3 separate regions of the Homo sapiens genome follow, and all the other regions are linked to region 1. Evidence: promoter capture Hi-C in 16 types of primary human blood cells and fetal thymus (Javierre and others, 2016). All regions are on one chromosome and are shown on one strand. Each heading gives the region's core, a stretch centred on a gene start or on the middle of the fragment in contact. The rest is flanking DNA. Distances are from core to core; before and after follow the strand shown. Region 1 holds the start of PADI1 (peptidyl arginine deiminase 1). Region 2 overlaps SDHB (succinate dehydrogenase complex iron sulfur subunit B). Region 3 overlaps PADI2 (peptidyl arginine deiminase 2).

The links. Contacts are between HindIII fragments. The CHiCAGO score rates a contact against its expected background, and 5 or more counts as called.
Region 2: a fragment that was not itself captured here is called in contact with the fragment with the promoter of PADI1 in region 1 in 1 of 17 cell types (neutrophils); the score reaches 5.9 in neutrophils.
Region 3: a contact is called between a fragment that was not itself captured here and the fragment with the promoter of PADI1 in region 1, in 1 of 17 cell types (monocytes). The highest score is 7.1, in monocytes.

What each region holds. Positions count from the first base shown.
Region 1 is chr1:17,203,248-17,206,979 of GRCh38, reverse strand. PADI1 (peptidyl arginine deiminase 1) reads right to left here and starts at 1,852. Exons shown (of 16, transcript NM_013358.3): 1 at 1,671-1,852. The coding sequence starts at 1,762. The HindIII fragment of the contact is 2,277 bases long and covers 382-2,658 here.
Region 2 is chr1:17,037,581-17,041,312 of GRCh38, reverse strand. The region is part of intron 2 of SDHB (succinate dehydrogenase complex iron sulfur subunit B); the gene reads left to right. Among named protein-coding and RNA genes, the nearest start is that of SDHB, 15 kb to the left of the region's middle. The HindIII fragment of the contact is 1,790 bases long and covers 992-2,781 here.
Region 3 is chr1:17,070,062-17,073,793 of GRCh38, reverse strand. It overlaps PADI2 (peptidyl arginine deiminase 2), which reads left to right. Exons shown (of 16, transcript NM_007365.3): 14 at 2,303-2,388; 15 at 3,578-3,706. Among named protein-coding and RNA genes, the nearest start is that of SDHB, 18 kb to the right of the region's middle. The HindIII fragment of the contact is 1,384 bases long and covers 889-2,272 here.

The sequences.
Region 1 (3,732 bases), core at 603-3,102:
GCCAGGTACGGTGGCTCACGCCTATAATCCCAGCACTTTGGGAGGCCGAGGTGGGTTGATCACTTGAGGTCAGGAGTTTGAGACCAGCCTGACCAACATGGCAAAACCTTGTCTCTACTAAAAATACAAAATTAGCCGAGTGTGATGGTGGGTTCCTGTTATCCCAGCTACTCTGGAGGCTGCGGCAGAGAATTGAACCCGGGAGGTGGAGGTTGCAGTGAGCAAAGATCTCGCCACTGCACTCCAGCCTGGGTGACAGAGCGAGACTCCATCTCAAAAAAAAAAAAAAAAAAAAAGAAAAAGAAAAAAAAGACTTCAGCTTCAGCTAAACAGCAGATTATTTTAGTAGAAATATCTCCCATGCAATATACTAAAAAAGCTTTTTGTTTTTTATCTGAAATTCAAACTTAACCAGGCATCCTGTATTTTTATTTGCTAAATCTGGCAAGCCTATGTTAACAGGGCAAGAGACAATGGGGTCTCTGCTGGCCACCTAGACCCGAGAGAACCAGCCCCCACAGCGGGGCTCCCAGCAGCAACTTAGAGTCAAGGTTTGGTTTCCATGGCTCCTGGTTTTCCTCCCCAGCCCTGCCACCGGGGTCACAGACCACTGCCCAACAGAGAAGCAGGAAGGGCTTCTCGAGCAGAGGATCACCAGAGGCCAGGTGGGCAGCTGGCCCTGGGCCCCACATACATTAACCAGACCAGCAGGTACAGGGGCTGAGTCCCAAGAGGGAGAAAGGAGCTCAGATCTCACCCAGTAACAGACCCCCAGCACCCAGCTCCTCTTTGAGGGAGACTCCCACCACGAGCCCCCTATCTGCAAGGGGTTCAGCCCCACCTGCTCCAGCAGGGATGGAATCCATAGACAGCCTCTCAGAGTTGGAAATGCCACCAGAGATCACCAAATCCAATTCCCTTAGTGGCCAGGTAGGGAAACTAAGGCTGAGTCCCCGAGTCCCCATCTGGACACAGCCAGCACAGGAAAGATTTGGGTCAACAGGAGAAGCAAATGCTACTGATGCCCCCTCAGATGTCATCATTGCCACCATCACCGCCATCATCGCCATCATCACTGTTCATCACCATAATCAGCGTCATCACCATCATCTCACAGCAAACATAAGTCCCAGCCGTCTTGCTCCAGGTTCTCTCTTCATATTAATTCATCGAGTATTTCCTAACCACTCCCTCCTGATTGGAATCAATCTAGTTATCTCTGGCTGACCTCCAAGGGTCAAGCTACCACACACGTCCCTTCACCTCAAAGAGATGGGGGCTTGGCAAGAAATTGAGGGAGGTGGGAACCAGTTCTCTTCCCCATCTTGAGCCATCTGATGTTCCACACAAGTTCTACCTAGGTGTCAGAATGCAGGGCCCAGACCCCAAAGCCTGACCCCAGGGCTCAGAGTTAGAAATCTAAGGCTGGACTCTTACCCAGGGGATTGAAGCCAATGTCCTGAGCCCAGTGCCCAGGAGCTGGGGCCCCAAGGAGGACCTGACTAGACCCTAGTTCCTTCCTTCCAGACTCCACAGCCAACTCCACCTTCTCTGCTATCTCCTGCCAGCATCCTTTCCAACGTGCCTGACTTGTCTACCAGGCACCCACCCCATTGACTTACACTCTAACCCAGCTCTCTGCAGCCAGGAGAGCGCCTCCCAGCTCTTACCTGTGAATGTCCACATGTGCCTCGACTCCCACCACACACACGGCATGGGTAGGCATCTTCAGGGACAGCTGCACAACTCTCTTTGGGGCCATCCTGTCACCTGGCTCCCAGCCTCCTAGATCAGCCCTGGCTCCCCAGCTCCCGTCCTGGGCACTTCTTTGCCAGGAAGAAGTGTGAGTTCTGATGGACTGGTGCCTCCTCCTCCCTTTAAATTTCACCCTGCGACCTGATTAGCCTGGCTGAGCCTGGTCCCCACCTCCTGGCTCCACACCCTCCTCACTCAGGGCTGTCAATCCAGGAGGTCAGGGGAGGAGGTGCCCAAGGCCTGTCTGGGAGATGGGGAAGGGGAGCTTCAACTGGGGGCCCCGGGCGAAGCAGGACTCACCTGCTGACAGGAGACCCTCCAGAGCTCCCCAGCAGCCTCTGCCCTCCCCTCCAAAGACTCCTGGTGCCTGAACCCCTATTACAATGATGTCAGTGTTTCTGTGGGCTGACTATGTGCGGGCTCTGCCTATAACCACCTGTGATCCTTATCAAACCTTTTAACCTCTCTGTGACTCAGCTGCCTCATGTGTAAGTTGGCAGCTGTAACAGTAGTACCTGTCCCATTGTGTTGATGTGGGAAAGACATGAGTTATGTGTAAGAAGATTAGCACAGCTCCTGGCACCTGTGTTCACTAAAACACTAACAATTATGACTTTTATCCTCATTTTGCAGGTAAGAGAACCATGGCTGCAGGTCTCACTGCTAGTAAGTGGTAGAGTTATAACTTCCACGCAGGTTCACCCGTCTCGCCACACAATACCACCCCCCAACAGGTGAGGGTAGGCCCTTGTGCCCAGACTCCACAGACAGCAGAAGCCACCCCAGGCAAGCATTCTTGGGGAGCCAGAGAGGAGGGAACTTGAAAAAGAGCTCAGAGCAATGACCTGGGAGCGTGGACTCATTTCTGAAAATCCCTCTTCTTTCAGCTCAGCACAGCAAGCTTCAGCCTGTTCTGAGGCTCTTTGTAGAACTTCATTTGTTAATTTGACAAGTGTTTGTTAATCATCTTTTATGTGTCAGGCACTCATTTAGGTGATAGGGATACAACTATGAACAAAAGAGACCATGATTCCTGCTCTGACGACATTTATATTCTGGGGGAGACAGACCGTAGGTGAAGTTAAATGAGTAAAGTGTGTATGACATCAGATGGTGCATTAAGGTTCTTCCCATTATCTAAGCGAGGGATGGCATGGCTTGGTCCCAGGGTAACAGGGAAGGTGGTGGGAAGTGGTTGGATCCTGAATGTATCTTGAAGGTAGAGCCGATGAGGTTTGCTGATGAGTTGGATGTGGGTGTGAGAGAGAGTGGTCAACGATCACTGGAGTATTTGGGACCCGAGCAACTAGAAGGATGGAGTTGTCATCAGAGAGATAGGGAAGGCTGCAGGAGGGCAAGCTGGGCAGGGAGCTTGGCCATTCTCTGTTGGACTTGTTCGACATGAGATGTCTGTTAGAGCTTGGGGTAGAGGTGGTGAATTGCAGGTGACGTGTTCCCTTCATATCGGGCATTGGGGGTGATGAGAAGAGCCGTTTGCTCTGGAATCGCAGGACACCCATCCTCAGTAATGTGGTCCTCTTCTTCCAGGGGGCTCTTATACAGAGTGGGAAAAGGGGCACATAAACCAGAACTCTAGTGTCCACAGGGCTGGGGTGGCAGGGCAGCAAAGAGCAAGAAAGAGAGAGAGAGAGAGAGAGAGAAACAGCCTTGCCTGAGGAGTTGTCAGTCTGATGGAAGATGTGGGGGACACACAGTCCCTGGCTGCAGGAACCCCAGCCTGATTAGGGAGGCAGGAAATAGTAAAATGGCATAAACATTTATTTGGTTACTTTTGATTTTGAAGATATTTTTGAAACCATCTTTCTTATTGCAAATGTTATTGATCTGCAAAGTTCATTACACCTGAAGTCACCAAGACAAAGTCTAATTTTACCCCATGGATACAGAACCCAGGGAAACAGGTGTTCAGGGATGGTTTTCCATCACCCAAACCCCAAACCTCAATTTACCAGGACC
Region 2 (3,732 bases), core at 637-3,136, 170 kb after region 1:
GAAGTAGAAACTATTGAAAAGCCAAATGGAAAATCTAGTACTGAAAAATATAATATTTGAAAAGGAAAATTTACCGGATGGCCTTAACAGCAGATTGGAAATGGCAATAAGAAGAATCAGCAAACTTAAAAATATTAATAGAAATTATATAGTTTTTTGTTGTTGTTTGTTTGTTTGTTTCTTGAGACGGAGTCTTGCTCTGTCATCCAGGCTGGAGTGCAGTGGCGCAATCTTGGCTCACTGCAACCTCTGCCTTCCAGGCTCAAGCGATTCTCCCACCTCAGCCTCCTGAGTAGCTGGGATTACAGACGTGCACCACCACGCCCAGCTAATTTGTTGTATTTTTAGTAAAGACAAGGTTTCGCCATGTTGGCAGGCTGGTCTTAAACTCCTGACCTCAAGTGATTCACCCGCCTCGGCCTCCCAAAGTGCTGGGATTCCAGACGTGAGCCACCATGCCCGGCCGAAATTATCTGTTCTTAAGAAAAAGAAAGATTTTTGAAAAGGGAAAGCGCTCCTGTGATCTATGGAACAGCATCAAAAGGTCTAGGGCAGGCATGGTGGCTCATGTCTGTAATCCCAGCACTTTGGGAAGCTGAGGCAAAAGGATCACTTGAGGCCAAGAGTCCAAGACCAGCTTGGGCAACCTGTGAGACCTTGTCTCTACTAAAAAAATTTTTTCTTTGAAAAATTAGCCAGGCGTGGTGGCACATACCTGTAGTCCTAGCTACTTGGGATGCTGAAGCAGGAAGACAGCTTGAGCTTAGGAACTTGAGGCTGCTATGAGCTATAATTGTGCCACTGTACTCCAACCTGGGCAGCAGAGTAAGACCATGCATGGGTGAGTGGATGGATGGATGTAACACACATGTAATTGGACTTCCAGAAAAAATGGAGAGAAAGAAAAGGCAAAATAAATATCTATTTGAAGAACTCATGGCCAAGAATTTCCTGAGCCCATGAAAGACATAATTCACATATCCAAGAAGCTTAGTGAACCCCAACTAGGTAAATAAAAATAAAACTATGCCCTGTTCCATGAAGTCAAGTTGCTGACGACCAAAAATAGGAGAAAATCTTGAAAGCAGCTGGAGAAAAACAACATGTTACATACAAGGAAACCAGGTGAAAAATTGCTGACTTCTCATCAGAAACTAGAGGCCAAGAGACAGTGAAATACCATCTTTAAAGTACTAAAAGAAAAATTGTCAGCCTGGAATTCCACGTTCAGAAAAAAAGATTCTTCAAGATGATTATGAAATAAAAACATTTTCAGGTAAACAGAAAAGAAAAGAATTCATGGCCAGAAGACCAGTACTACATGAAATGCTATAGGAAGTTAGTCAGGCTGAGGAAAAATAATACCAGGTGGAAACTTGGCTCTTAGAAAAGGAATGAAGAGCGCTGGACATAGTAGATATAAAAGGATTTTTCCTCTTAATTTTGTTAAAATTAATATGACTGTTTAAAGCAAAGTTATTATATTATATTCTGTAATATATAACTCACATAGATGTAAGGCATATGATAACTATAGCGTAGGGGCTGGGAACAGCAGGTAAATAGACCTATAATAATGTAGCAGGATTCTTGCATTACATAAAGTTGCACAATAGTAACTCTAAACAGGTATAAAGAGTTAAAGATGTAAATTATGTAAAGTATAATTCTAGAGTAACTTTTTTTCTTCTTCTGAGACAGGGCCTCACTCTGTCATCCAGGCTGGAAGGCAGTAGCACAATCATGGCTCACTAAACCCTCCCAGGCTCAACCAAGCAATCCTCCCTCCCTGAGACCTCCTAGGCTCAAGCAATCCTCCCACCTCAGCCTCCCATGTCCCTGGGACTACAGGCATGTACCACTATGCCTGGCCAATTTTTTTTTTTTTTTTTTTTTTGTAGAGACAGGGTCTCACTATGTTGCCCACACTGGTCTCCTGGGCTCAAGCAGTCCTCCTGCATCAGCCTTCCAAAGTGCTAGGATTACAGGTGTGAGCCACCATGCCCAGCCAAGAGTAATTATTTTTTTAAATGCAAAGAGATATAGCTAAAAAGCCAATATATAAATTAAAATTGATTTCTAAAAATATTTACTTAGTCTAAAAATATTACTTAGAATAAGAAAAGAAGAAGAGAACAGCAGCAAAATGATGGAACAAATAGTAAAATGATAGACCTAAATCCGGCCACGTCAATAACTGTATTGAATGTAAAAACTATTAAATACTCCCAGTTAAAAAGCCAACAGTGTCAGAATAGATTTTTTTAAAAAAAGCAAAACCCAACCATATGCTGTTTTAAGTGCAAGAAAAAGCGCAAGAAAAAATAAAGAAATACATTTGAAAATCAATGTGATTCACCATATTAACAGAATAAAGGGGGAAAACCCATTTGATTGCTTTAATATATGCAGAAAAGCATTTGGCAAGATTCAACACTCATTCATGATTTTTAAAAATGATAATGGGTTAAATAATTTTCACAGTGTGTATATTTTAACAGAATAAATAAATAAAACTATAAGGAATTTGAATTAAAAGGAATAGTCCTAATTTTACTTAAATAATAACTGCTAATAGGAAAAGAAGGGAACTTCATCAGCCAGATGAAGACTGTGAAAATCACAGCTAATAGCATACTTTATTGTGAGATATTGAACACTTTCCCCATAAGATCAGGAATAAGGAAGGTTGTCCACTCTGTATTTGAGTTCAACATTGTACTGAAGGTTCTAGCCAGTCCATGAAAGGCAAGTAAAAGAAGTAGAAGGCATATGTAAGCTTGGAAAGGAAGAAATTAAACTAACTGTAGTCACAGGTAACATGATTGTTTACATAGAAAATTTCAGGGAGTCTACAAAACTAAAAGAATAAGTAAATTTAGCAAGGCTGCAGGATGTAAGGTCAATATGCAAAATACTATTTGTGTGTGTGTGTATTTCAATGGCTACAGATAATTCTATTTATGCTAACATCAGCCATTCAAAATTTTACTGGAGGCTTAGCCAGGGAAATTGGGTGAGAAAAAGAAAGAAAAGGAAATTGGAAAAGAAGAAGTAAAACTGTCTCTCATAGATAACATAATCTTTTACACAAAACCTTGGGCAGGCTCAGTGGCTTGTGCTTATAATCCCAGCATTTTGGAAGGCTGAAGCAGGAGAATTTTTTTTTTTTGAGACAGAGTTTTCGCTCTTGTTGCCCAGGCTGGAGTGCAATGGCACAATCTTGGCTCACCGCAACCTCCGCCTCCCGGATTCAAGCAATTCTCCTGTCTCAGCTTCCCAAGTAGCTGGGATTACAGGCGCCTGCCACTACGCCCAGCTAATTCTTTTGTATTTTTGGTGGAGATGGGGTTTCTGCGTGTTGGTCAGGCTGGTCTCGAACTCCTGACCTCAGGTGATCTGCCCACCTCGGCCTCCCAAAGTGCTGGGATTGCAGGTGTGAGCCACTGTGCCTGGCCTGAAGCAGGAGAATTGCTTGAGCCTGGGAGTTGGAGACCAGCCTGGGCAACAAAATGAGACCCCCATCTCTACAAAAAAGCAAACAAAAAATTAGCCAGGCTGGGTGCGATGGCTCACGCCTGTAATCCCAACATTCTGAGAGGCCAAAGCAGGCAGATGACTTGAGTCCAGGAGTTCAAGACCACCCTGGACAACATGGCAAAACCCTGTCTCTACTAAAAATACAAAAATTAGCCAGGCATGGTAGCACACACCTGTAATCCCAGCTTCTTG
Region 3 (3,732 bases), core at 331-2,830, 130 kb after region 1:
AATTCCTCATACTTCTTTTTTTTCTTTTTCAACTTCTATTTTAGATTTAGGGGGTACATGTGCAGGTTTGTTACCTGGGTGTATTGTGTGATTTGGGGTATGAATGATCCCATCACGCAGGTACTGAGCATAGTAGACAACAGTTAGTCATTCAACTCTTTCCCTCCTCTCTCCCTCCCCACTCTAATAGTCCCCAGTGTTTGCCATTGCCATCCTTATGTCCAACATGTTTTTTATTGTGATAAAATATACCTAATCTAACACATTTGTTATTTTAACCACTTGTAAGGACACAGTTCCGGGACATTAAATACATCTACAATGCTGACTAACCATCAGCACTCTCTATATCCGTTATACTTTTTTTTTTTTTTTTTGAGACACAGTCTCACTCTGTCGTCCAGGCTGGAGTGCAGTGGTGCCATCTCGGCTCACTGCAAGCTCCGCCTCCCAGGTTCAAGCCATTCTCCTGCCTCAGCCTCCCCAGTAGCTGGGATTACAGGCGCCCGCCACCACGCCCGGCTAATTTTTTGTATTTTTAGTAGAGGTGGGGTTTCACCATGTTAGCCGGGATGGTCTCAATCTCCTGACCTCATGAACCACCCGCCTCGGCCTCCCAAAGTGCTGGGATTACAGGCGTGAGCCACCATGCTCGGCCTATTTTTTTCTTAAATTACTTTTGTCACTTTTCAGGTTGGTATCCATAATATATCTCATGCCTGAAAGCCTGAGTTCCCGCAGCTGGTTGATACTTACATGACTGCCCCTCAGATCCAAAGACAGTGTTCCTGACTGTCACTGGTGTCTAGGACAGACAAGACCAATTTAACACCACCACCCTTTTTAAATTCCCCACTGATGGGAAGTTTGTTCTTGGATTGGCAAGCTTGAGTCCTGACTTCCTGGAGGCTTCCTCTCTAATATTAAACATACCCTCAAAAACTACCCATAGGATATAGGGACCATTATTTTTGTACAAATAGGGGCAAGCAGTGCCCCAGATTTCTCTTTGTATTTTAGAAAGAGAGATAGAGAGAAAATAGATAGAATACAGTTTGGGGACAGGAAGAAAACTGGACTTTGATGGACAGAAGGCATGGTCAGGCATCGTCATTGTCAGTTCAGGAGTGAAACATTATCTCCTGGACTTAGACATTCATGTAATTGGGACAGACAGAGAGAGGATGCGCGGATGTGCAGTCAGCAGAGAGTAGAAGCACATAGGAGACCTGGGGAGGAAGGTGAACCAGGCAATGCCAAAGAGCCAAGATCTCCGCTGGACCAGAGCCCACAATGTTTGGGGAAAACACATCCCTTTAAAAGATGATAAAAACTACAGACTTGCCCTCCAGAAAAATGCTTATATCAATCTATCTCCTGAACTTGGATCAGTTTTAGAAAATCACAGATCCCTAAAGTTTTCTGTTTCTACCTGGACCCTCCCTTCTGAGTCCCTAAGCCTCAAAGATTACATCCGGCTTGTAGCTGGGCATCTTTACTGCTGTCCAGTTATAAACCTGGGAAGTGCAATGGACCAGCAGTCTCTTCCCAGATGAGGCCAAAATAAATAAACAAATAATAGGTTAAGAGCATAGGCTCTGGAATCAGACTGCCTGATCTGCACACCAACTCTGCCGCTTGCTAGATGTAAGTCCTGAGACAAGTCACATAACTTCTCTGTGCCTCAGTTTCCTCATTTTTCAGGGTAGTGACTACCCCATAGAAATGTGGGGAGGATCCATGAGTTAATTCAATGTAAAGCGTTTAGAAGAGCGTCGGCCACATAGTAGGTGCTCATTGAGCATTAGGCATTACTAATCAAGCTGGAAGCCACATAAGCCATCGTGTGGTACAGGAGGAAAACGCAGGCCACTCCAGAGCAGCAGCCAAGATGAGGCAGCTCTGGAAAACAGGAAGGGTGTCCCCTTTGGCCATGCTGCTTCTGCCACATTCATGCTGGTCAGCTGCTCATCCTTAGGAGTAGGCTGTAGGTGGGAGAACCAGGGGGCTACTTGTAGCACCCCTGATCCCACTGGCCAAAGCAAGAGCAAGGCAGCTGCCACCACTGTCCTGGCTCAGATGTCATGGTCAACTCTGGAGAAAAGAGTGTGTGCTGCCCTCCCCAGACAGAGGGGGGCCTGATTTTGCCTGGGAGTGCCCTCCTGTGATCCAGCCTCTCCCCAGTCCCATCTCCCCAGTCCCAGTCCAGCAGTTAGCCCAGGCCTGGAGGATCTTGGCAAAAGGGGAACACTCAGCCTGGGTATCTAAAGCTTGACCATCCCCTGTCCTTTGAACCCCACAGGCTTGGGTGGGATGAGCAGCAAGCGAATCACCATCAACAAGATTCTGTCCAACGAGAGCCTTGTGCAGGAGAACCTGTACTTCCAGGTGAGGGCAGGGCAGGGGTGCAGGGCCAGAGGGCCCCTGGGAGGGATGAGGCTCAGGCCCTTACATCCTTGGGGCTTCCGTAGAGAATGGCCAAGGGCTCAGGAGCTCCTGACCCCGAGCACAGCAGCACAGGGAAGAGCCTCCACCAGCATCCAGCCAGCCTCCTTGCTTTGCTCCTGGGCTAAAGTCCCAGGGTTAAAGAAGTGCCAAATTGTGCCGCCCCCTCACTTGGGGAGGTAGGACCATGGGCAACTCACTAAGGCTGTCTTTGGGTCTCTCATCTCTAAAAAGGGGATAATGGGGGCCAGACACAGTGTCTCATGCCTGTAATCTCAGAACTTTGGGAAGCCAAGGCGGGAGGATTGCTTCAGGCCAGGGGCTTGAGACCAGCCTGGGCAACATAGTGAGACACTTGTCTCTACAAAAAAAATAAATAAAAACTTTGGCCGGGCCTGGTGGCTCATGCCTGTAATCCCAACTCTTTGGGAGACTGAGGTGGGCAGATCACCTGAGGTCAGGAGTTCAAGGCCAACATGCCCAACATGTTGAAACCCCATCTCTACCAAAAATACAAAAATTAGCCTGGCGTGGTGGCAGGCGCCTATAATCCCAGCTACTTGGGAGGCTGAGGCAGAAGAATCACTTGAACCCAGGAAGTGGAGGTTGCAGTGAACCGAGATCGTGCCACTGCACTCCGGCGTGGGCAACAGAGTGAGACTCAGTCTTAAAAAAAAAATTAAAAGGGAATAATAATAGCATCTATATTACAGGGCTGGAGCTTAAATAGGCAATCTATGTAATGCGCTTAGAACAGTACTAAGCACATGTACGCATTAGCTTTTGTTATTACCAAAATCATCAGTGTTATCCTCAGCTCATGGGGTGGCCCGAGGGGTCACTGAGGTGCTGTGTGGGAAGCACTTAGCACAGGGACCGGCTCTAGTGAGTGCTCAGGAAATGGCAGCTGCTGTTCTGGCATCTGTGACCTTCCTCTGTCCTATTACGACTGCTGTTCATGAACCCCGGTGGACAGGGCCAGGGAGAGGCTGCAGAGGCGCCCGCTGACTGCTAGAAGTCTCTCTGGAGTGCCGGGGCCCCTGGCCTGGTGCTGCAGACAGGGATGGGGTTGACAAGGTGGCCGGTGTGTGTCCCCCTCACCTGCATGCCCTCCATCCTTTCTCCTACCCAGCGCTGCCTAGACTGGAACCGTGACATCCTCAAGAAGGAGCTGGGACTGACAGAGCAGGACATCATTGACCTGCCCGCTCTGTTCAAGATGGACGAGGACCACCGTGCCAGAGCCTTCTTCCCAAACATGGTGAGGCCCTGCAGACCCCAACCCTC